2 separate regions of the Homo sapiens genome follow, and region 2 is linked to region 1. The links are contacts of gene promoters, found by promoter capture Hi-C in blood cells and fetal thymus (Javierre and others, 2016). All regions are on one chromosome and are shown on one strand. Each heading gives the region's core, a stretch centred on a gene start or on the middle of the fragment in contact. The rest is flanking DNA. Distances are from core to core; before and after follow the strand shown. Region 1 holds the start of STARD4-AS1 (STARD4 antisense RNA 1). Region 2 has its middle 30 kb from the start of APC.

Region 1 (4,516 bases), core at 789-3,288:
CATAAGTGTGATGTAATGACTCCCGCCGTCCAAAAAAAAAAAGCCAAGTTAATTTTGTTTTAAACATGTTTTACACCATCCTGCAAGAGAATATATAGACTGTTGAGCAAAGTATCCAGAACTGAATCCTAATAATGACAGATACAACTTTTTTACTTTTTTGAAATAGATACGTGGATTTATTCCTCTCCACCATTAAACCTGTGTAAACCCTCACAGTAGGAATTAGGCCTTTCATTTATGGTCCCAGTGGTCTTCACAGGTGCCTTGACAAAGAGCTACCAAGCACCATCTGAATTTTATGGAGACTAAGAGCCCAGTTTCAGAGTCCAGCAGACCTCAGCCAAATTCCAGTTTCTCCACTCAGTAATTAAGCAACCTGCCTTAAGATTTATGTCTGGGGCTCCTCGCCTGTAAAACACACCTACCTTAGGGGGCTGTTAAGAGGATTCAATGTAATTGAATTAAGTAGGTACAACTTAATTACAAAGCACTTTTCCCCAACCATTTCAAATTATTTATCTACGTATTCATCCATCCATCCAAAGCACCTCAATAATTGGCCAATAATTCCTAAGTGAAAGGAGCTTTACAACACACGAAGAACTCTTCTATTATGTCACACGAAATTATAAATATAAATATAAAACAAATTATTTTACATATAAACGATGGAGGTAAAAAATAAATCGGCCAATAATAACTAGCAAGTAGTATTTGGTAATTCTTTTGGTGAGGCCGACTTAAAAATTTACGAAATATTATTTATTTTCATTGCAAGTCTATCAGAAATCACTAATGGTGTAGCACTGCATTCTTCCCTGCTTTTGGTTCTCAAACTACGTATCTTAGTAAACGCAATTTGCAGACAAACCAAGCCTCGCTAATCAGTGCATCATGGCTACTCTGGTAAAGGAAGAAATTCACTGTTTGCCAAGCATCCCATCAGATGGGTGACTTCACAGCCACTGGAAGAAATCTTTCTCATGTTCGAGTAGATGGAAACTCCAAAACTGTGCAGTTGCTAAATCCACTTGTCACACCTCCTCCTTTTCTCTGCTTCTAAGGTTGCCCTCTAAACTCTTTATCTGAGGATGGAAACACACACACGCACCCACACACACCCACACCCACACACACACAAACGTATTTGGCTAAAGGTCAATTCACATAGTGGCAGGGACTTTCGTTTATATGCATTTTCCTTCCCAGCTCTCTCAGTTCTGAGTCAGGCTAAGCAGGAGGCAGAGAGCTCGTCCTCCTCTGCATGGGCGCTTTTTCTTATTTGACTTTTAGTCCTGGGAGGAGTAGCGTAGTTGCGAGATACTAGGATATCCACAAGCGGGATGAATTTGGACCTTATCCCTCACTGTGATCCTTCACTTCGCCTTCTGTTTCAATTTCTCCCAGTCGGTTTACTGCTTGACAAAATTCTTTCACAATTAAGTGATCACAGGACAACCCAACCCAACCAATCCAAACCTGCAGGCAACCCCAGACATCCAGGGAACCCTGGCGCGGCTCGGGCCAGCCCACACCCACGCGGAATCATTCCATTTATCGGCCACCAATCAGCCCTCCACACGCTCCCGCGCCAGCCAATCCGAACAAGCGCACGTTGTTCCGGCCACCTCCTCTCAGCCCCCCCTCCCCGGAGCCCCCGGGATCGGGCCAGGGGGCGGGGCTGGGGGCTCGGCCCGCCTTGCCCTGAGGCGCTGGGTGCCTTCCAGTTGGCTGCGACCAGCGGTGACTTACAAGTTGGCTGCTGTCGCCTGCGCATCGGCGGGCCGGGAGGCTGAGCAGTACTGTTGAGAGCGGTGTGAGGTGCTTGGTAGCGCGCCGTAGCTGCTTCCACGTCCTTGCTTCACCTCAGGTAAAGGTAAGGAGAGCCACGGAGCCGCGGCAGGATTGGGGTGGCCCGTGTGGAGGGCGACTGTGGCGCCCGGGGCGTCCTGCCAGGTGCGTCTTCTGGACCTGCTCCAGACCATGGATCTGGGGAGCTCGCGGTGGACGTTGGGGATGGCGGGCCCCGGCGTCCGGGCGGGAGAGGACCTCACAGATGAAAGAGAAACCTGAGCCCCTGGGAGGGGAAGCGGCGAGCTGGAAGGATCCCAGGGCTTGCAACTCGCCCCTGCGCGCCGCTCACCTATTTAAGTACTTGGAATCCATTAGACCTCAGTGTCCTCAGCTGTTAAATGGGAGAGGGGCGGTGGTAATCCCGCTTGATTTGGGACAGTCCTGTTCTTTGGAGGTCACCGCGCTTCCTGGTTCTTAGGAGGTGCACAGACAGCGCAGGGGCAGCCGCGTCCCACCAGGCTTCGCGGAGGTGATGCCAAAGACAAGAGACAAAGTTTTCCCAGGGCTTACTGCCTTCCAAGGTCCCTGCTAAATGTATTAACTCAAATAATTTCTCACCAAATCAGTGTCATTGTTTTCCCGAATTTACACTTGAGAAAGATTACCTTAGATTTTTAGGTTCAGCAGCCAGGACAAAACTTGACAAATATTTGGTGGGCCCAGGTTTTTTATATGAAGTCTTTTCCAGCCTGTGATCAGCTTCCACAGTTTTACAAGAGAGAGCTTTAGGCTCTGAAGTCAGACGCCCTGGGTTGGAATTCTGGCTCCATCACTTATGAACTGTGTGATCTTGGACAAGTGACTCAACCTTCCTGTTGCTATTTTCCCTTTCTGTAAAACAGGGAAAATGTATAGACATTAAGCTACTATTCTCACTTATGGAAGACCTCAAGATATCTAAAGTATGCCCATTTACACCAATCCTAGAGCTTCTGAATAACTAAAATTCCTTTACCATAATGAAACACATTTTCTCAAGGAGGACTATTACTGTTGTGAGGATTAAATAAAATAAATGCAATGTAAAGCAGCCAGAAGGACTGACCATGTAGTAAGTGATCAATAAATGTTATTGTTATTTTTTAAAATCAAGTACAGAGCATTAGGTTTTTTTTTTAATCAAGTATTAGAGCATTAGGGGTTTGAACAGTAAGTTGGCTCACTATTCATATTGTAGAAATATACTTCCATGTTGCATTTCTTTAAATAGTGAGCTCCTGCCAGAGCCAGTCTCAAAAAATGAGAAGCTGCTGTACTTGTCTGAGTTAGAAAACTTAACAGTTCAACATTGATTGGAAATCAAGCATATGCTGAAATTTTTATGTTAGTTAGAAAATATAATTTAATTTACAAAGCTTTGGTTTGTATGACATTGGGGAAAGTCCATGGCATGTTAAACTGAAGCTGTTGACGGAAGTGAAAACCATATTAATCAAGTAATGCAAGGTTAGACCGTTCTGATACCTGCATTTCTTTAACAAGTGAATTCTGACCTAGTCGTACTACAAAAGTCCAAACAGATTTTTATGGCATTCACTTTACATTACAGGTTAAATGTTTTATTATGTTCCATATTTAAAATAGAACCTATGCCATCTCACTGTGACAGATATTTGAGAATAATTGGAGTTGGATTGGTCAAGACTATGGTGCTGATAGATGGCCTCAAGAAAAGTAACTTGAGACAGCTGCCCTCCCTATGATGGCAGCCACTATCACCACTAGTGATAGCTTCAAAAGCATGGGCATAGAAAACATGAACAAAAAGATTAAAGGAAAAACATGGAGGTGGACATTACTCAGCATTTGGCCATGGGACTGACAAGAGTATAAAATCTTTTATATGAACCTATTATATTCTGATAAGGTTAAGTGGTGCCTGTTCTCTCTGACGTGTAAATGTTAGAGTTGGATAATTTCCTGATATAAGGTCAAGATAAGGGAATAAAAGACTGAATTAGTAAAAGGAAGTTCAGAATGGGTTCAGAATGGCATTTAAAACATTTACCTGACATTCTCCACAGTTGGAGATTGCAGGAGGGCAAATTAGGTGTTTTCCTCTCAATTAATGTCAGTACCCTGTTATATTAGGAGAGAGAGCCAAGACCTTGATAACCCATCTCCCCCAACCCTCTTGGTTCTAGAATATATTAATATTTTGAGAAATGCTCAATTATGCCTGTTTACACAGAGGTAGCAGTTTTGATGGCAATGATTATTTCATTATGGACTTAATCTTGATGAAAATAATCCATGCAAGACTTAACTGTTTGGTTAAATACATTGCTGGACATATTTAATCAGAGAGAGCTTTCTGATTTTGTACTTCTTTCTCTTCCTTTCCTACCTCCCACTGCACCACTCTTAAAAAGGCTATTAATAGAATTTTTTAATGTTTTAGTTTTTGTTGTTGTTATTTCTGTTAAAGCTTAAGGGTGGAATAAGTCAATTTGAGAGTAAAATCTGAATTCCATCTGTTTCTGTAGTTCTAGGACCTGGTATATAATAGATGCTTGATAAATATTTAATAGTAGTCCTTCTTGAGAAATGGTGTTTCATTATGGTAAAGGAAGTTTTAGTTATTCAGAAGCTCTAGGATTGGCGTAAATGGGCATACTTTAGATATCTTGAGGTCTTCCATAAGTGAGAATGGTAGCTT
Region 2 (4,516 bases), core at 1,036-3,535, 1.2 Mb before region 1:
CCTAGAGTTGAACAGCACACACACTTATATGGCAGAAGATACAAGCATCTATGTAGGCTAGAGAGGGAGAGGCTGAAGAAGGTGGACAGGAAGTGAAAATGGACAGTTTCTAGAGAAAGAAAGATGGGAAAGGGTACATGGACACATCTGGAGGGAGGGGGTTGCTCTTGAAAAGAAAGAAGGTCATTTCTTCCTCTGAGATATATATATATAAAGAGATGACACTGAGATGAAAAAAGTGAAGTGGAAATATACCTCAGATGGTTGAGATTTTTCTCAGCAAAGGAAGAGATTAAGTTATTTGCTATAAAAACCTGAGGAAATGAGAAGAAAAGGAACACAACACTAGAGACCCAGCAGAGAGCACCAACTGGCATAAAAACTGACCAATATCCTCACATAGCTGTCTCTGATGTCCCTCAGAATTTCAGGGGTCAAACTGGTAAAGCTAGCGAGGCTTATTTAGGATTGGGGACTAGAAAGGTAAGTCTACAGAAAGTGAAGCATTCTAGGCCATCAATAGGAGCTTAGTAAAAGCTGATGATCATGGGATCCTGGTTACACAGGGAGGCAAATGAAATCAGCATTAGGGTAATGGGTTGGAAGAACAGGGAGACAAAGAAGGTTCACAAAGAGAAAGAGAGAGAGAAAGGAAAAAATACCAAATTCCATAAGAGTGGAAGAGTGAGAGGGTTTGTTTGTTTGTTAGGAGACAGGGTCTTACTGTCACCCAGACTGGAGTGCAATGGCACAATCTTGGCTCACTGCAACCTCCACATCCCGGGCTCCAACAATCCTCCTGCCTCAGCCTCCCAAGTAGCTGGAATCACAGGCATGCACCACCATGCCTGGCTTATTTTTGTATTTTTTTTTGTACAGATGAGGCTTTGCCATGTTGCCTAGGCTGGTCTCGAACTCCTGGACTCATGCGATCCATGCGCTTTGGCCTCTCCCAAAGTGCTGGAATTACAGGCATGAGCCACCACACCCTGCCAAAGTGAGAGGTTTTAAAGAGTTTGTGGTCAGATGTTTTTTGATACAGAGCTACAAATCATTTTGCCAGAAGCAGTGAGCCACTGATTGGGGCTCAGCAACCCCTGCTTTGCTACTGCCCCTTCAAACTGTATGCAGAGAATTCAGAGACAACCAGCTCTAAAAACACACAGGCTCTGGTTCCAGAAAAGTGAAGGCTAGCAACGAATGAACTAGCCCATACAAGAAGCAAACATAAAAATATTCCTCCTTCTTTTAAGCTGAACAATTCTATCTCTAAATTTTAAAAATGCATTAAAAGGTCAAAAGTCCACAGTAAAGGGAAAAATAGATTATGTGTTATGAGACAGAATGAAAAGTAAACAAATCTGCCAGGCTATTTATAACCCACACGTTAAAAATTTTTAACATACAATTCTAATACAGCAGGCATAGTTTGTGCTTAACAACTTTGGAGAACATCTAGCATAACTTCAAGAAAACGATATTGCTCAATTTAATGTTAATAAAAAAGGTCCACCCATTTGCAATTTCAAAGGGCAAGCTATCATTTATATTTTTAATCTCACTTCTACAATTTTGGGGCTCTTGACACGTTATCCAACCCTTCCATCCAGGGAAAGATGGAAAAATTAGCCATGGCAACTTCCTCCACTACCGCTTTGATCCCACATTTTGCACTTAGACTCTGGCAAGGTACTACGTTATTTAGGACAGTTTTTTACACCAGTAATTCTGACTACCCTTGCTCCACTAATAAAGGAGGGAGTACTGAGACTGGCACAAGACTAAATCATATAGAAAATATCAAGTACTCCTAAGGAGGGTTGAACAGTAACAACAATCGAGAATACAAGCAATTTAAGAAGTTTTGAACTTAAAAAGCTTTTCTCCATTTTAGTCCTTTCTAAATAGAAACAAAGGGCTTGTACAACATGGAATTCTAAGACGTCAGTAGGCAATTTAAGCTAACACTGAATAAAAGAATAAATCACTTATCCTTGCTTGTACCATTAAGTGATGTCTTACATGTACTGCATAAGGTCTTCTTTTTTAAAACGAATATAACAGTTTCCAATTCTTTCACTAGATCTAGAAAGCTCACGCCCCCACCTCAACAGTTCAGAGACCAAAGATTTCCTACAGCCGAAAAAAATGAATGATTTAGATGAACAATCATTTGCCAACAGAGGCACCATTCCTCTACTTGGTGGGTCAAGGAGTCAGACTCTGACCTAACCATCCAAGGCTCCTGGGGACTTGATTCTCCCATCAAAGTGAACAAAATTCACCGGCCTTTGGATAACAGCCCTTTCTTTGTAACTCCACATGCCGGGCTATCAGGTATTTTCCCAGGCAGAGAGTTTAAAACTTTTAGAGGAAGCAAGAGGGTCCAAACGAGGAAGATGGGGAAGCGACTAAAATGGGAAGGGCGGACGACCCACCCACCTAACGCGAATGGGGCACCACTTGCAGGGGCGAAGCTCCAGCAGCAGCCAGGAAAGGTGGAGGACGGCGGGCGTCGCGACCCCCATCCACTGCGTGAGAATGGAGGACCTGCAAAGCCAGGGGCCAACTGGAGGCCTGAATGGGGAGTGCGGGGAGGGGAGAGGGTGAGACATGGAGAGAAGAGAGCCACAGAGTCGGGCCGAGCACCGTAGGGTCCCGAGCAGCGGCGGGGCAAAGCCGAGGAAGCTTTGCCGGGAGGAGACGTCAATGCCTGCAGCCTCACTCACCTGCCAGACGCTCGCCCAGTGGCCAGAAGTACGAGCGCCGCCCGGGCTCTTCGTCTCCTGCCGGACGCAGCTCCTGCTGCCGCCGGTGCTCCAGGACCCGAGAACTGAGGGTGGTACAGAAGCGGGCAAAGGGGCGACCGGACCCGAGCCCAGGGAGGCGTACATAGGGGGCGCCGAGGCCCGAGAAGGCAACTGAGTGCTTCACCTTCCTCACCAACAGCCAACAACAGTACCTGGGAACAGCATCGAGCCAACCTCGGTCCGCAGCTCCCGGGCCTGAGCCCGCAGGTCCCCCCCGAGCAGCGGCTAGGCTTCCGGCGGCCACACCCCGCCCCCTTGCTACTTGCCCTCCGCCATCTTGTGGGAGGTGGGAAGACTACAATGCGCATGCGTGAGAGGTGTTGCTGGCTTCCCACAGCCCGGAGACTAGAGCCTGTTATGCGCAGGCGCAATGGGTGCTGCGCTCCGCTTGCCGGGCACTGCTTCGCTGTTCTGTCCCGTGAGCCATTGCTGCCTAGGCAGCCGAGTCTCAGTTGCAGCACTTACTGGCCTTCTCTGAATTGTGCTGCAGCCCAGTTAATAGATCCTTCTGCACACACTAGTCCATTATTCCGCAAACATCTATCGAGTGCTCACTATTTGCTACTCCCCGTACTAGACGCTGATGATAGAAAGATGAATAAAATTCTGTCCCAGCCCCACAAGGGCTCATAAGATAGCGGAGAAACGGAGATGAGCAAGTTATTATTTTGTAGCTGCGACCTCTGCTTCCCTACCACCTCTCACTACCACCCTGTAGTTTTAATTTAAAAACACCTCTTCCGGGAAATCCTTGTTTGTCTCACACAGTTTGATAAGTTCTTTACCTTGGATTACCTCTTCAGTTTCATTTCATTCAACATTAATTGAACAATATCATTTGGGTTTCCGATATATACTAGATACTGTTTCAGGCTCTAGATTTACAGCAATAGGAAATACAATAAACTCACGGAACTTACATTCTAGTGTGAAAGAATAGACAATAAAAGACAGTCAACAAAAGAATGTTTGATGGTGATAAGGGATAGGAAGAGAGCAAACCACACAGAAAGATGATGGACAGTGAGAGGTGGTGATTAGTGATCTTTCTCCAGAGTTGACATTTAATCTGAAGCCTGACTGACCATGGGGGCCCAGGAGCCACTGGAAGATCTGGGGCAAAAGCTTTCAGACAGAGGGAACAACAGAACAGATCCTGAGGTGGTAGCAAGTCTGACATGAAAGAGGGACAGAAAGAATAGGTGACATGGACAGTGGGAAGGAGATGTGGTCGGGGTAGGCAGAGGCCAAATCAGGTAGGGCCTCCAGGTCATGGTAAGAAGTTGGATTTTATTCAAAATGGCCCTTGTATGTTGTTGACGCTGTCTCCCCTAGCCCCCACTACTCCTCTTCAAACACTTCTAGCTCCCGACTGCCTTTCTGGTTTGTATATGCCCCCTTGACTACCTAGAAGACACTTCTTCTTGTTCTTTAAATGTCTAACTTCTTATCTTTCAAGTTTCAGTTTAAATATCACCTCAGAAAGACCGTCCTTCCTAAGAATAATAAATTTTCCCCTGTCTTCCTTATTATTCTCAATCATTGCACCTTATCATTTCTTCCATGGTACTCAATATGTTTTTAAATGATCTATGTTTTGTTTCTTCACTGCCTCCACACTAAACAGTCGACTCCATAAGACAGGGAATACGTTTTGTTTACCAATGAATACACAGTGCATAGCACCATACCTGGCATGAGTGCTC

The links. The method cuts DNA at HindIII sites, captures the fragments that hold promoters and counts their contacts. A CHiCAGO score of 5 or more calls a contact.
Region 2: a fragment that was not itself captured here is called in contact with the fragment with the promoter of STARD4-AS1 in region 1 in 2 of 17 cell types (total B cells and non-activated CD4 T cells); the score reaches 8.1 in total B cells.

What each region holds. Positions count from the first base shown.
Region 1 is chr5:111,509,748-111,514,263 of GRCh38, reverse strand. STARD4-AS1 (STARD4 antisense RNA 1) reads right to left here and starts at 2,038. Exons shown (of 7, transcript NR_040093.1): 1 at 1,756-2,038. It overlaps STARD4 (StAR related lipid transfer domain containing 4), which reads left to right and starts at 1,729. Exons shown (of 6, transcript NM_139164.3): 1 at 1,729-1,879. RefSeq lists enhancers at 1,265-1,404, 1,885-2,094 and a silencer at 1,485-1,854. The HindIII fragment of the contact is 3,364 bases long and covers 1-3,214 here.
Region 2 is chr5:112,706,096-112,710,611 of GRCh38, reverse strand. It overlaps a transcript of APC not described here. Among named protein-coding and RNA genes, the nearest start is that of APC, 30 kb to the left of the region's middle. RefSeq lists an enhancer at 3,075-3,134. The HindIII fragment of the contact is 810 bases long and covers 1,881-2,690 here.